4 separate regions of the Homo sapiens genome follow, and regions 1, 2 and 3 are each linked to region 4. The links are contacts of gene promoters, found by promoter capture Hi-C in human tissues and cell types (Jung and others, 2019). All regions are on one chromosome and are shown on one strand. Each heading gives the region's core, a stretch centred on a gene start or on the middle of the fragment in contact. The rest is flanking DNA. Distances are from core to core; before and after follow the strand shown. Region 1 overlaps PITPNB (phosphatidylinositol transfer protein beta). Region 2 overlaps PITPNB (phosphatidylinositol transfer protein beta). Region 3 overlaps SF3A1 (splicing factor 3a subunit 1). Region 4 holds the start of RHBDD3 (rhomboid domain containing 3).

Region 1 (2,771 bases), core at 213-2,712, 1.4 Mb after region 4:
AACTCCCGACCTCAGGTGATCCACCCGCCCTGGCCTCCCAAAGTGTTGGGATTACAGGCATGAGCCACTGCGCCCAGCCAGTAGTTGTTTTTAAATAAAGTGCACACCCTTACTTTATTCATGGAAGTAAGGTAATGTCAAGGTAATAATTTAAATTGCTATAGAAATATAATGCATTTTAAAGACATCTACTAAACTAAATGACAGATCCTTAAAGAAGTCTTAATGTGTTATTGGCAAGTTACTACAGCTAATTTGACAAGAGAAGAGCATAAAAACTTAAACATGCCCAGAGCAGATTTTCCACTCCCAGGGTCTTACTTGGTAACCAGTCTGTCTGTGCTGAAGCCAGTTACAGGTCATCGATAAGTGATGTCTAGGTACTAGTTGCATGCAGATAAGAGGATTACTGTTACAGCCCCACAGAGAACTCATTGAGTGGTTCTCCCTGGGTGTTAGACTGTTTTGTGGACTGTCTTGTGCATCAACTAAAAGGAAAAATGAATTTGACTTTGGTTTATAAGAAATGATTCATAACTATATTATTTTCACATTTGTTCTCTGGGTAGAGTTTAGTTCAGAATTCTCCCAGTTTTAATACTTAGCATGTTAGGCCAATCTTGCATTATTACAAAGAACCTGAGAATGGGTATTATATATAAAGAGGCTTGGGCCAGGTGCAGTGGCTCACGCCTGTAATCCCAGTACTTTGGGAGGCTGAGGTGGGTGGATCACTTGAGGTCAGGAGTTCAATACCAGCCTGGGCAACATGTTGAAACCCCATCTCTACTAAAAATCCAAAAATTAGCTGGGCACGATGGTGCTTGCGTGTAATCCCAGCTACTCAGGAGGCTGAGGCAGGAGAATCACTTGAACCCGGGAGGTAGAGGTTGCAGTGAGCTAAGATTGCACCATTGCACTCCAACCTGGGCGACAGAGTGAGACTCCGTCCCAAAAAAAAAAAAAAAAAAAAAAAAAAAAAACCAGGCTTAATTGGCTCACGGTTCTGCACACTGTATAGGAAGCATAGTGCTGGTATCTGCTTTTGGGGAGGCTTCAGAAAGCTTACAGTCATGGTAGGCAAAGGAGAAGCAGGCGTCTCACATGGTGGAAGTGGGGCAGGGGAAGTGTGCCATGCACTTTTATACAGCCAGATCTCGTGTGAACTCAGAGTGAGAGCTCACTTATCACCAAGGGGATGGCCCAAGCTATTCATGAAGGATCTGCAGTCATGATGCAAACACCTGTTAGAGGCTTTACCTCTAACATTAGGGATTGCATTTCAACATTGGGGATTACATTTCAGCATGAGATTTGAGCAGGGACAAATTCCCAATCTATATTACCCAGAAAGTGATATATACCACTTATAAATTAACAAATTCAGCCTGCTTGATGTAAATTTGCTTTAATGGATTTAGTGTCCCCAGCCTTTTCCAGATTTCTAGCTTCAGACTTTAGAACTCAATCTTAGTTGGAGGAGAAGCCCTTTGAGATTTCACACTGGTCTTCTAAACAAGGACACCATGCCAGAGAGCAGCCCAGATGGTGGCTACCTCCACTGGTGCTGTAACTTCTAAAAAAGTACATCTTGTTCCAGTGAGTAGTAGCTCTAGCTGACAATACTTTTACAGGGAGTAAAGGGGCATGAGGTTGAGACCCAGAGGTGAATTAAATATTGTATTTTCTTGAAATTATTAGCTTTTCAAGTATAAACATTAAAAGACAATGCTACATTATGTGGTGGGCTTTATGTTTGGGCTCAGATCCTTCCTATAGGAACTCCTGATTTTATAACAGGCAGCAAAAGTAGTTTGATACTATGACTTGTACTGATTTCTAACTTTTTAGGAACTTGGAATATATACCATGTCTGGCCTGATTTGTAACTGATATTGCTTTGTCTTTTATTATTGACTAATGATTGAAATTCTAGAATAGGTTTAGTTCTTAGAAATAATGTGAATTTTGTATTTCTGCAGATTGCAGAACTGCAGTTTTTTTCCATTTTCCCCCCTGTGTTAAACAGTAACTTATTAGGCTGATAGGGTGCTGGTTGTTTCTGCCCATTTGCCTGTTGATTGTTCATTTTATCCAGATGATGGTGTATCCAGCTACTCTTATAAATTCAGCTACTGCCTGACTGAATTTCTGTGAATTACTGTGATCTCAGAAATAACTAGTGCAGTCAAGAATAACTGATAATAATTAAGCCATCCACTTGCTGCTGTGGAGGGAAATAAAGCGTAAGAAGATAGCTGATAATATGGCATACAGGAAAATAGGAACCTTTGGACTTGATCTTACCAGTGTCTTCTGTAAACATGTTCAGCAGGCCCTCTTTGCCAATTACTGTCCTGGTGGAGGCACTGAGGGTAGCACTGGGGAACGATAATAGTTGGAAATTTTTATACTTCTGAAATGCAAGGAAGAAATAGGGAACAAACATGATAATTATGGCTGAAAGGAAGAAGAAATCTTATTGTGGACCCACTTAACCAGGGTAGTGTTGAAGAATGTTCTTATAGAAGAGCTGCCTGGTAGTTCCACAGTCTCTCTCTCAAAAGGCCTCTGTGAACCATCCCACACATACCCTTCAGCAGAAACCTGCCTTACCAGTACAGATTCCAAAGTCTATTCAAAGCTAAATGCAAATCCTATGATTTCTTTGAAACTTTTCCTTACTTGTCTGATGGTGGTATTTTCCCTCTGAATTATTGCAGTATTTACTTCCTGTCTGCACCAGACTGACTAGGGGTAAAGAAACTTTT
Region 2 (2,973 bases), core at 299-2,798, 1.4 Mb after region 4:
TTTGAGCTCATTGTACTGTGCAATGTGCTAAACACATTCCAGTATTTGATTTAATTCTCTTAATAACCCTGCAGAGCAGGTAATAGGAATTCCATTCAACACATGAGGAATTTCAGAGAAGCCAAGTAGCAGGCCTAAGGTCACACAGCTTCCAAATGGTGATGTTGGGATTTGAATTCGATCTGTGTGAAAAGTCTGTGCAAGCAAAACTACTCTTTACAGTAGGCTCCAGTCACTATATCAGTCACTTCATTTGCATTTATTTGAAGACTGTTAAGACTGATTTTCCCATTTGTTTGTTAACAAATAACATTTTCTATTTGTAATGGGCCTGTGGATGACTTTTGCCCCTTTATATGTTGGGATTGTTTCTGATTATCATATGCTTGCACAAGCTTCTCATATATTAATCATGTATTGAACCTTTCTCTTCCTCTGAATATACTTAAGGCAGCAAGTGACATTCATCTCCCATACCTACAAAATTTTATACTTGGATATGCTTTAATTTCTCATTTTCTGCATGGGTCCTTTACATTGTCATTTTTCTTCAGGTCTGTTCTATAAAATGTATTCAGACTTTTATTCAGAGATATCTCCTTATTCTGGGGCTTTTTGCATTAAGAAACAGTATAATGTCATCTAACTCTTAAGAACTACATTGTATTAATGTGCAGATTGAATAGCTGTTAACTCTTAGGTTTTACATTGGGGTAGTAGATCAGAAGTTCTTAAGAAATAATTGCTTCTATTTAAAAAAAAAAAAACCACACACACACACACAAAACCTTTTATACAGTTAATTTTTTTTTTCCTTGTGAGACAAGGTCTTGCTCTTTTGCCCAGGCTAGAGTGCAGTGGTGTGATCTCAGCTTGCTGCAACCTCTATCTCCCAGGTTCAAGTGATCCTCCCACCTGAGCCTCCTGAATAGTTGGGGCTACAGGCATGTGCCACCATGCCTGGCTAGTTTTATATTTTTTGTAGAGACAGGGTTTCACCATGTTGTCCAGGCTAGTCTCAAACTCCTGGGCTCAAGTGATCCTCCTGCCTCAGCCTCTCAAAATGCTAGGATTACAGGCATGAGCCACCATACCCAGCTAAATATTCTTAATCATTTTTATTTAAAATGTAAAAAATTATGTGTTCATTTCTACTGGATTACTTTAGGATTGAAATAAACTAGTTCATCAGACTTAGAACCTGGTCACCTTTGATTGCCATACTCTTTCAAGCAGTTGGATAGATACCAAGAAAGAATTGATGGTGCTGTTAAATATATCCAGTATCTCTCTTCTCCCAGCAAAGTGCCTGCATTCGTGAGGATGATTGCTCCCGAGGGCTCCTTGGTGTTTCATGAGAAAGCCTGGAATGCGTACCCCTACTGTAGAACAAGTAAGCTTGGCCCCCAGCAGCCATTGCACCCCTCCACCCTGAGAATGAGAGGGATTCCCAGTACCAGTGTCTTTGAGAAGGTTTACACTGAGCAAGGTCTTCCTTGGGTTCTTGGATAGTCACTGCTAGAATGATGGCAGAGGAAGGGCTGCATTGGGTTCCTCCCCCTAGAACTTTGTGACAGGCATAAGTTCATTCCCACATGGCAGCCACTTTGGGGTCCTAGCTGACTATGCTGGCTCCAGGGGTAAGCCAAAAGAAAGGTCGTTTACACTCAGAAGGGTGTTTTGGTGTGTTTCAACAGTATTTTACTTAAATTGCTACATAATAGAGGAGGAATAGGACAGACTTCTGAAACAGCATCCTATCATTTGCTAAATTGACCTTATAAATAATGTTTTGCTTTTGTGACATTATTATTCTTTTTAGCATTATTTTTAAAATTAGATTATTGTTCATATTTTATTTGTACTCCATAATCTAATGTACTGTATAGTGTCACTTGTGTGGAAACTGTTTTGCAGACATAAATTACTAAATAAATGTTCTGTTTTCAGATAGTTTAGTCTTTGTGACATTAAGTATTGGGACAGATTGTTTTGACTCCAATTAATATTCTGAAATTTTTCTCCTTTCATTACCTACCTCTCCATTATGCCTCAGTTGTAACGGTGAGTAAAACTATTTTTGTGTCTCATACTTTCTTTATCTTTAAACTTTGTTTTACACAGTAATTATTTTCAACCATTCTTTGCTAACTGCACCTCGCTGCATGGTTCCTTCCTGTGTCCCACCAACCAGCCGCCACACTCTACCACATGTTCCCAGTGTTCATGGGCCCTTTCCACCCTTGTCTCAAAATCTCCCTATTGATTTTATTTTGCTTTTGTTACTCCCTTCAAACGCCATATTTGTTTATCAGACCTCACAGCTTCTTTATTAGCCCGATATGCCACGTGGCAAGTAGAATTGTTTAAATTATTTAAAAGCATGTAGCATTTGGTTTGCCTGACAAGTCTATAAAAATCGGTAGCCAATGATTCTTTGTCACTTGAGTATCAGTCTCCTTGTAGAGTCAAAGCATGGATGCCTATACTGGGAAAAGCTCCCTCAGACGTGGGCACCAAGGAACAGGTAGAAGATCACTGTCATTTTCCTGTTGTGTTTTCTGCAGAATGAATATATGAAAGATGATTTCTTCATTAAAATCGAAACATGGCACAAACCAGACTTGGGAACATTAGAAAATGTAAGTTTCAACTCTGCACTTTTAGTACAAAAGTCCCTGGAAACGAGAATTCTATATGTAGTTCACTTTGTCATCATCAAAGTAATGTCACCTGTGTATCTGACCGCACCAAGCTGTGTCAAATTGAGATGAGGCGGGCAAGCAGCCAGAAACCAAATAGGCTTTCCCTATCAGTCCGCTTGCCTTGACACTTTGGTAAAGTTGCTGTTTTGATCAGCAACTCTCTTTATCCGAGACAAGGAGAGCATGAATAAACAAAATTCACAGATAATCCCCAGCCCAATTTTAGCCATTAGTTTTGCTAATTAGATTGCTTTTATATCTGAGTGTT
Region 3 (3,148 bases), core at 74-2,573, 1.1 Mb before region 4:
GCTAATCACTAGGGAAGCTGTCAGGCTGCAGTAAGGAGACAGAAACAGCCCCGGCCTCTGCTCCCCCAATGTATTTGACCAAATTGTTTCGTTTTGTTTTTGCAACCTCTGCCTCCCGGGTTCAAGTGATTGTTATGCCTCAACCTCCGGAGTAGCTGGGATTACAGGTGTGCACCACACACCCAGCTAATTTTTGTATTTTTAGTATTTTAGTAGAGATGGGGTTTCGCCACGTTGGCCAGGCTTGTCTTGAACTCCTGGCCGTAAGTGATCCACCACGCTGGCCTCCCAAAGTGCTGGGATTACAGGTGTGAGCCACTGCACCCGCTCTGTTTGTTTTTTAATAATAGTTCCCATTTCTTAAACGCTTAAGTACCAGGATAGAGCTAAGCACTTTACAGACACTTCCCCTCAATACTCAAAACAGTCATGAACCCTGTCTGGTGGATAATGACATTGAGGCTCAGACAAACCTTGTTAGCTGGGAAGCTGAGTTGGGAATCCAGGTCTTCCGACCCTGCAGGTCATATTCTTTTCCCTTGGGGTGTGCAGAGTATTTTCACTAAAGTTCTTCAGTTTAGCTCCAGACTCACCAAGAGACAAGATAGAGATTGTTTTAAAGAAAAGAAACCTAATCTTGCAAAGGGGGGTGACTTGTACAACCTCACAAGGGGTTATCAGTGGTGAATCAGGCCAGAATCCAGGAGCCCAGATGCACAGGTGACATTGTCTGGACAGGCCTAGGGATAGCAGAGCATAGTTCTTGATTGGCTCCGAGCTCCCTAGGCATAATGACCACCTCCTGTTTTGTAGGGTCCAGTGTCCATCAAAGTCCAGGTGCCCAACATGCAGGATAAGACGGAATGGAAACTGAATGGGCAGGTGCTGGTCTTCACCCTCCCACTCACGGACCAGGTATGGGTACTGCCAGAAACTGGCATCAGGTGCATGGGAACCAAGCATTCAGGGGAAAGCTTCCTCTAGCTGGCCTTACCAAGGAGTTGAATGACCGCTGCTTGATCCCACAGGTCTCTGTCATTAAGGTGAAGATTCATGAAGCCACAGGCATGCCTGCAGGGAAACAGAAGCTACAGTATGAGGTGAGTCAGTTTGTCCACAGACCTGTCCCTTGGGTCCTGACACCTCTGCTTTCACAGAAGCTAAATCTGTCATGGAAGCTAAAAGGGGAGTGGAGTGATATCTGGGTGTGGCCATCTGAATCCATCCTAGAAGTCATGATGCTGGCTGGGAGTGTTGGGGCAGGTGTGCCCAACAATGCAAGGCTCTGGTGGGGTCACAGTAGAGTCTTGTGTGGGATCTGTAAGATTCTTTGCCTCAATGACTGGGCATAGAGATTTAGTGACAAGACTTAGGCATGCTCTGGTGGGTTCCTGATCCAGTGGTTGGGCCATCCCTGCCAGTATGACCTCAGGCAGCCTGACTTGGAGGTGATAGTCTAGCCCCGCCTGATGCCAGGTCACATGGAGGCATTAATGTTCTTCTTCTCTGAACTTGAACAAATCCCTGCTCTGGGCCTCAGTTATCTCTATCCATTGAGGCTGTTGGGCTAAGTGATCCCTAAAGGTCTTGTGATTTCAGAGTCAGAGCTCCATGGAGTTGGTGAGGGGCCAACTTTTTGGGGAGTTGAGCTTTTGAGTCAAATGTTGACAAAGGGGAGGAGCGTAATTGGTGGGAAGAAAGGAAACAGTGGGAGGAATGAGAGGCCTCCAGTCCCCAACACCCTACCTTCTCACAAGCTCCTGTATTTGCTAAGTCCAGAGCGCAAACAGACCAAGTGCACAGTTGTAAGGTTGCAGCGGTATCCCCAAGGCTGGGTTGCCCCATGCTAAGGCACGCTGTCTGTTTTCCAGGGTATCTTCATCAAAGATTCCAACTCACTGGCTTACTACAACATGGCCAATGGCGCAGTCATCCACCTGGCCCTCAAGGAGAGAGGCGGGAGGAAGAAGTAGACAAGAGGAACCTGCTGTCAAGTCCCTGCCATTTTGCCTCTCCTGTCTCCCACCCCCTGCCCCAGACCCAGGAGCCCCCCTGAGGCTTTGCCTTGCCTGCATATTTGTTTCGCTCTTACTCAGTTTGGGAATTCAAATTGTCCTGCAGAGGTTCATTCCCCTGACCCTTTCCCCACATTGGTAAGAGTAGCTGGGTTTTCTAAGCCACTCTCTGGAATCTCTTTGTGTTAGGGTCTCGATTTGAGGACATTCATTTCTTCAGCAGCCCATTAGCAACTGAGAGCCCAGGGATGTCCTACAGGATAGTTTCATAGTGACAGGTGGCACTTGGCTAATAGAATATGGCTGATATTGTCATTAATCATTTTGTACCTTGACATGGGTTGTCTAATAAAACTCGGACCCTTCTTGTGAAATCAGTTAAATAAGACTTGTCTCGGTCACCTGTGCCCTGTCCAGACTCGAGGCAGTGGTAACACTGCACAGTGCTATGTGGCTTCTCTTTGAGGATTTTTGGGTTTTGTAACTAAATTCTTGCTGCCCTCATACTTTTTATGTATTAGAATCATATTCGTATTGCCCTTTTAAAACATTGGGATCCTCCAAAGGCCTGCCCCATGTATTTAACAGTAATACAGGAAGCATGGCAGGCACCATGCAAACCAAGGATGGATGGTGCAGTCCCTGTGTCAGTGGGCGGTGGTTTCCTGCTGGCCTGGAATCACTCATCACCTGATTGATTGGCTCTGTGGTCCTGGGCAGGTGCCTCATAGGTGTGTGGATATGATGACGTTTCTTTAAAATGTATGTATTTAACAAATACTTAATTGTATTAAGGTCATGTACCAAGGATTTGATAAAGTTTAAATAATTTACTCTCTACTTTTATCCATTTTATCCATTTTAACTCATGTAATCCTCATGTGAGTATTCCTGTTTAACACTTGAGTAAACTGAGGCACAGAGAACATAAGTTGCATGCCATAGTCACACACTGTGAAAGTGAAAAGAGAATGTGTGCAAAACACGTCACAGTCCTGGTTTCTGAGTAAAGGCAGGCTGTTATCTTTAGAATCAAGCTATCACAGGGAGATAGGCAATGCTGTGGGTGTTGGAGGAAGGTGAGAGCCTGTTGCTAACAATTTCCTGGTTTTAAAGCTAAGGCTGATTTTATT
Region 4 (2,926 bases), core at 170-2,669:
AAGGACCACTCTACTCCCATTTTGGAGTTCCCAACCGGGGCTTGCTTGCAAGTGCCTTTAAGATTGCTTCTACTGGCCTTTTTTCCCCTCTCCTCTGTCGACCTACGAAATCAACAGGCCTGCCGGCCTAACGCAGGCGAATAAACGTGCGAGGCCACTGCTGAAACATAATTCAAATGAAGGCTCGGCCTTTTGTTCCTCCTAGGTCAGAGAGACCAGAAATATCTTTCTGGTAGCGTTTCTCGTCTCTCGACCCAGGCTGGCCTTATTATACAACGGATGTCCCTCGGCGTTTGCAGAAAAAGGGCCCTGGGAAGCCACTTAATTGGTTTTGGGGGAGGGGAGGACGTGGATTAATAACGATAAAAATGGAGAAGCCCAAGAAAGCGGCAAACTGGGGGCCCTGGAGGAGGGAAGCACATTCTGTCTAAAGCCCAGGCGAGCAGAAGTTCGGCTTGGGGCTGGAAGCCACAGAGGGGGCAGCTCGGCAGCGCCAGACGCCCCAGCCGACTGGGTCTTAAGGATGACGGGGCTCCCGCTCATAGGCCGGCACCCCTCGGCCCACAAATCCACGGTATCTTTATTTGCTTTTTCCCCTGGTTTCTCAGGAAACCCTGAAAACGGGGAGGGAGGCCTCACAGGGACAGCAGCCTGCGGGCCCCCCGGCGGTTTCATAGTGACCGGCTTGAGGCCTGGCCAAATCCTCCCCTTCACGCAGGGCCTCGAAGGCCGCAGGCCCCGCCCACGTGGCGGGAGGCCCGGAGCTCAGGGCGCGAGGACCGCCACACAATGGAGGCCAAGGCGGGCCCCGCGCGCCCCCGCCGCAGCAAGCCCCCCGCGCGCCACGGGCGCCGGAAGATTCCAGAACCGGCCCGCCCGGTTGGGGGAGGGGAGAGGAATGCGGATCCCCGAGCTCGTCGGGCCGCGGCGGGTGCCTCAACCCCCTCTCGGCAACTCCACTCAGTCTTCCCAGCCAAGCCCAGAGACGAACGACCCCCAGTTTGGGCGTTCCGGCTACCGCCGGCGCGACCGCAGTTCCACCATACTCACCCGTGGACGCCATTTTCTCTCCTTCCTCCTCGTTCTCTCAACGTCCGTCTCCCTCTCGCTTTCCCTCTAGGCGCCGCACTGCGCAGGCGCAAATCTCGCAACCCCGGGCGCGACCATCGGGCCAGGCCACGGGGGTGGGGTCAGGAGGGATGAACCACCGCTTACTCGTTCTTCGCGTCCGCAACTCTTGTCCCAGTCCTCTCTAAAGAGCGCCCGACGTGACACTCGGGCCAAAATAGCATCTAAGGGGCCAGAGCGGGGGTGAGCGGGTCTCAGCGTGAAACCGGAGAGGCTCTCAGCACGAGACTAGGCTGTTTGGAATGGTTCCGTCCGCTGGCTCTAGGGACGGTCGCTGAAGAGTCGGCCCTGCAGGGAGACGGAGATCGGCGGGAGGGCTGGGGGAAGGGACCCGGACTAGAACAACTGCTGACTAATCCGCGGGCCGCGGGGAATGGGTGGCGCGCCAGCCGGTCGGCAGGGGTCACGCGGCCGGGTGTGCGCGGAATGGATTCAGGGTTCTCGGGTCGCGCCCGGGAGCTAGAGTCCTGACTCCCAGCCGGGGTCCCCGACCGGCCTTTCGGGGTTGCCGGGCGCGCTCTGCAGTGAGTACCCGGGACGCGTGGCCCGGGCCAGCGGGGAAGGGTCCCCAAGGCCGGTCGGCTGGGTGGGAGGCCTCGAACGCCGTGCCTGGCCCCGAGACCCTATCCCCGGTAACGGTCGAGGTGGAGCAGGCCCTTTAATCATCCCTCATCCGATATCCTTGTTTCTACAGAAGGGGAAACTGAGGCCCAAGGAAATTGAGTATCTCTGCAAAGTCACCAGCTGAGTTCGAACCAGACAGATCCTGGGACCCCCTACTCTATCCGCCACCGGAAGAATCTCCGTCCTTGTCTTTCCATTCTGCCCTCCCGGCTTCCCAGTAAGGTAGGCAGGGCCTGGTGGTGCACTGCCCCGTTTCATAGATTGAAGAAAGTGAGGTCCAGGGGGCTCAAGTCCCAGTTCCGAGTGTCCACGGGTAAGCCCTTCACCCTTGCTAAGGTGCCCAGAGCTGGGGAATGGTTGTGAGGTGTCGATGCAGGAGGAGGTTTACGGTGGGTGCCTTGGCCCCAAACCCTGCCTCCAGGCAAGGCTGACCCTGCCCACCTTCCTGGACCTCTAGCCCCAGCCCCCTAGGTGGATGCCCGGGTCCGCGAAGGGCAGGGTTCACCTTCAAATCCCTCGGCAGGACCAGGAGCCAAGCTAGTGTCCTTTTTTCAGTGAACATATATAAAGCACTGGCTGTGTGCTGTGAATACCCTGGGGAATGTGGGGTTGGATCAGAGGAGCCATGAGCTCAGACCACCTGCCTAGGGAGACAGACTGGCCAAGCTGTGCTCCTAAGGATAAGATCCATGATGTTAGGGGGCCAGAGGAGGGGAAGGGATATTTGAGCTGGGCTTCCAAGGGTGAAATAGGAGTTTGCCTGCTGGCAAAATGGAGGGAAGGACAATGCAGGCAGAGGAGCTTTCCACATTTTTCCTGCAGGAAACTGGTAGATGTGGAGAAGGCGCTTGGCAGGGGAGCAAATTAGGCAGCCTTCTTGTCTCTCTGGGATCCTGCTTCCTGCCCTGAATCAGCTCAGTGGGAGTCCTGGGACCGAGAGGCCTGACCAGGGGTGAAGACCTACAGGCCCTGGAGGACAGGCTGGATGCAAGAGAACAGCACGGGGGAGAAGGCCTTGCTTTGGTGGGCAGGGAAAGGCCATGTTTGAGGGCCAAAGCTGGGACCAGCTAGGCTGGAGCAGCCACCTCCATATTGAGGCCTTCTCGATGGGCCAGTTGGTGGCTACAGACGCCTGCCATGATTAGTGCGGATTGCTATGGTTTATGGAGGAAGA

What was found. The method cuts DNA at HindIII sites, captures the fragments that hold promoters and counts their contacts. A contact is called where the count stands out against the background at its distance.
Region 1: a contact is called between a fragment that was not itself captured here and the fragment with the promoter of RHBDD3 in region 4, in 1 of the 25 tissues and cell types used here (dorsolateral prefrontal cortex).
Region 2: a contact is called between a fragment that was not itself captured here and the fragment with the promoter of RHBDD3 in region 4, in 1 of the 25 tissues and cell types used here (spleen).
Region 3: a fragment that was not itself captured here is called in contact with the fragment with the promoter of RHBDD3 in region 4 in 1 of the 25 tissues and cell types used here (spleen).

The regions. Positions count from the first base shown.
Region 1 is chr22:27,870,294-27,873,064 of GRCh38, reverse strand. The region is part of intron 8 of PITPNB (phosphatidylinositol transfer protein beta); the gene reads left to right. Among named protein-coding and RNA genes, the nearest start is that of PITPNB, 48 kb to the left of the region's middle. The HindIII fragment of the contact is 6,796 bases long and covers 1-2,771 here.
Region 2 is chr22:27,896,221-27,899,193 of GRCh38, reverse strand. PITPNB (phosphatidylinositol transfer protein beta) reads left to right here. Exons shown (of 12, transcript NM_012399.5): 4 at 1,302-1,393; 5 at 2,057-2,064; 6 at 2,568-2,642. Among named protein-coding and RNA genes, the nearest start is that of PITPNB, 22 kb to the left of the region's middle. The HindIII fragment of the contact is 4,356 bases long and covers 1-2,973 here.
Region 3 is chr22:30,333,419-30,336,566 of GRCh38, reverse strand. It overlaps SF3A1 (splicing factor 3a subunit 1), which reads left to right. Exons shown (of 16, transcript NM_005877.6): 14 at 814-915; 15 at 1,029-1,100; 16 at 1,872-3,148. The coding sequence ends at 1,973. Among named protein-coding and RNA genes, the nearest start is that of TBC1D10A, 8.1 kb to the right of the region's middle. The HindIII fragment of the contact is 5,203 bases long and covers 1-3,148 here.
Region 4 is chr22:29,266,474-29,269,399 of GRCh38, reverse strand. It overlaps RHBDD3 (rhomboid domain containing 3), which reads left to right and starts at 1,419. Exons shown (of 7, transcript NM_012265.3): 1 at 1,419-1,652; 2 at 1,823-1,974. It overlaps EWSR1 (EWS RNA binding protein 1), which reads right to left and starts at 1,132. Exons shown (of 17, transcript NM_005243.4): 1 at 1,051-1,132. The coding sequence starts at 1,063. RefSeq lists a silencer at 787-876 and enhancers at 1,047-1,106, 1,217-1,276, 669-1,540. The HindIII fragment of the contact is 23,296 bases long and covers 1-2,926 here.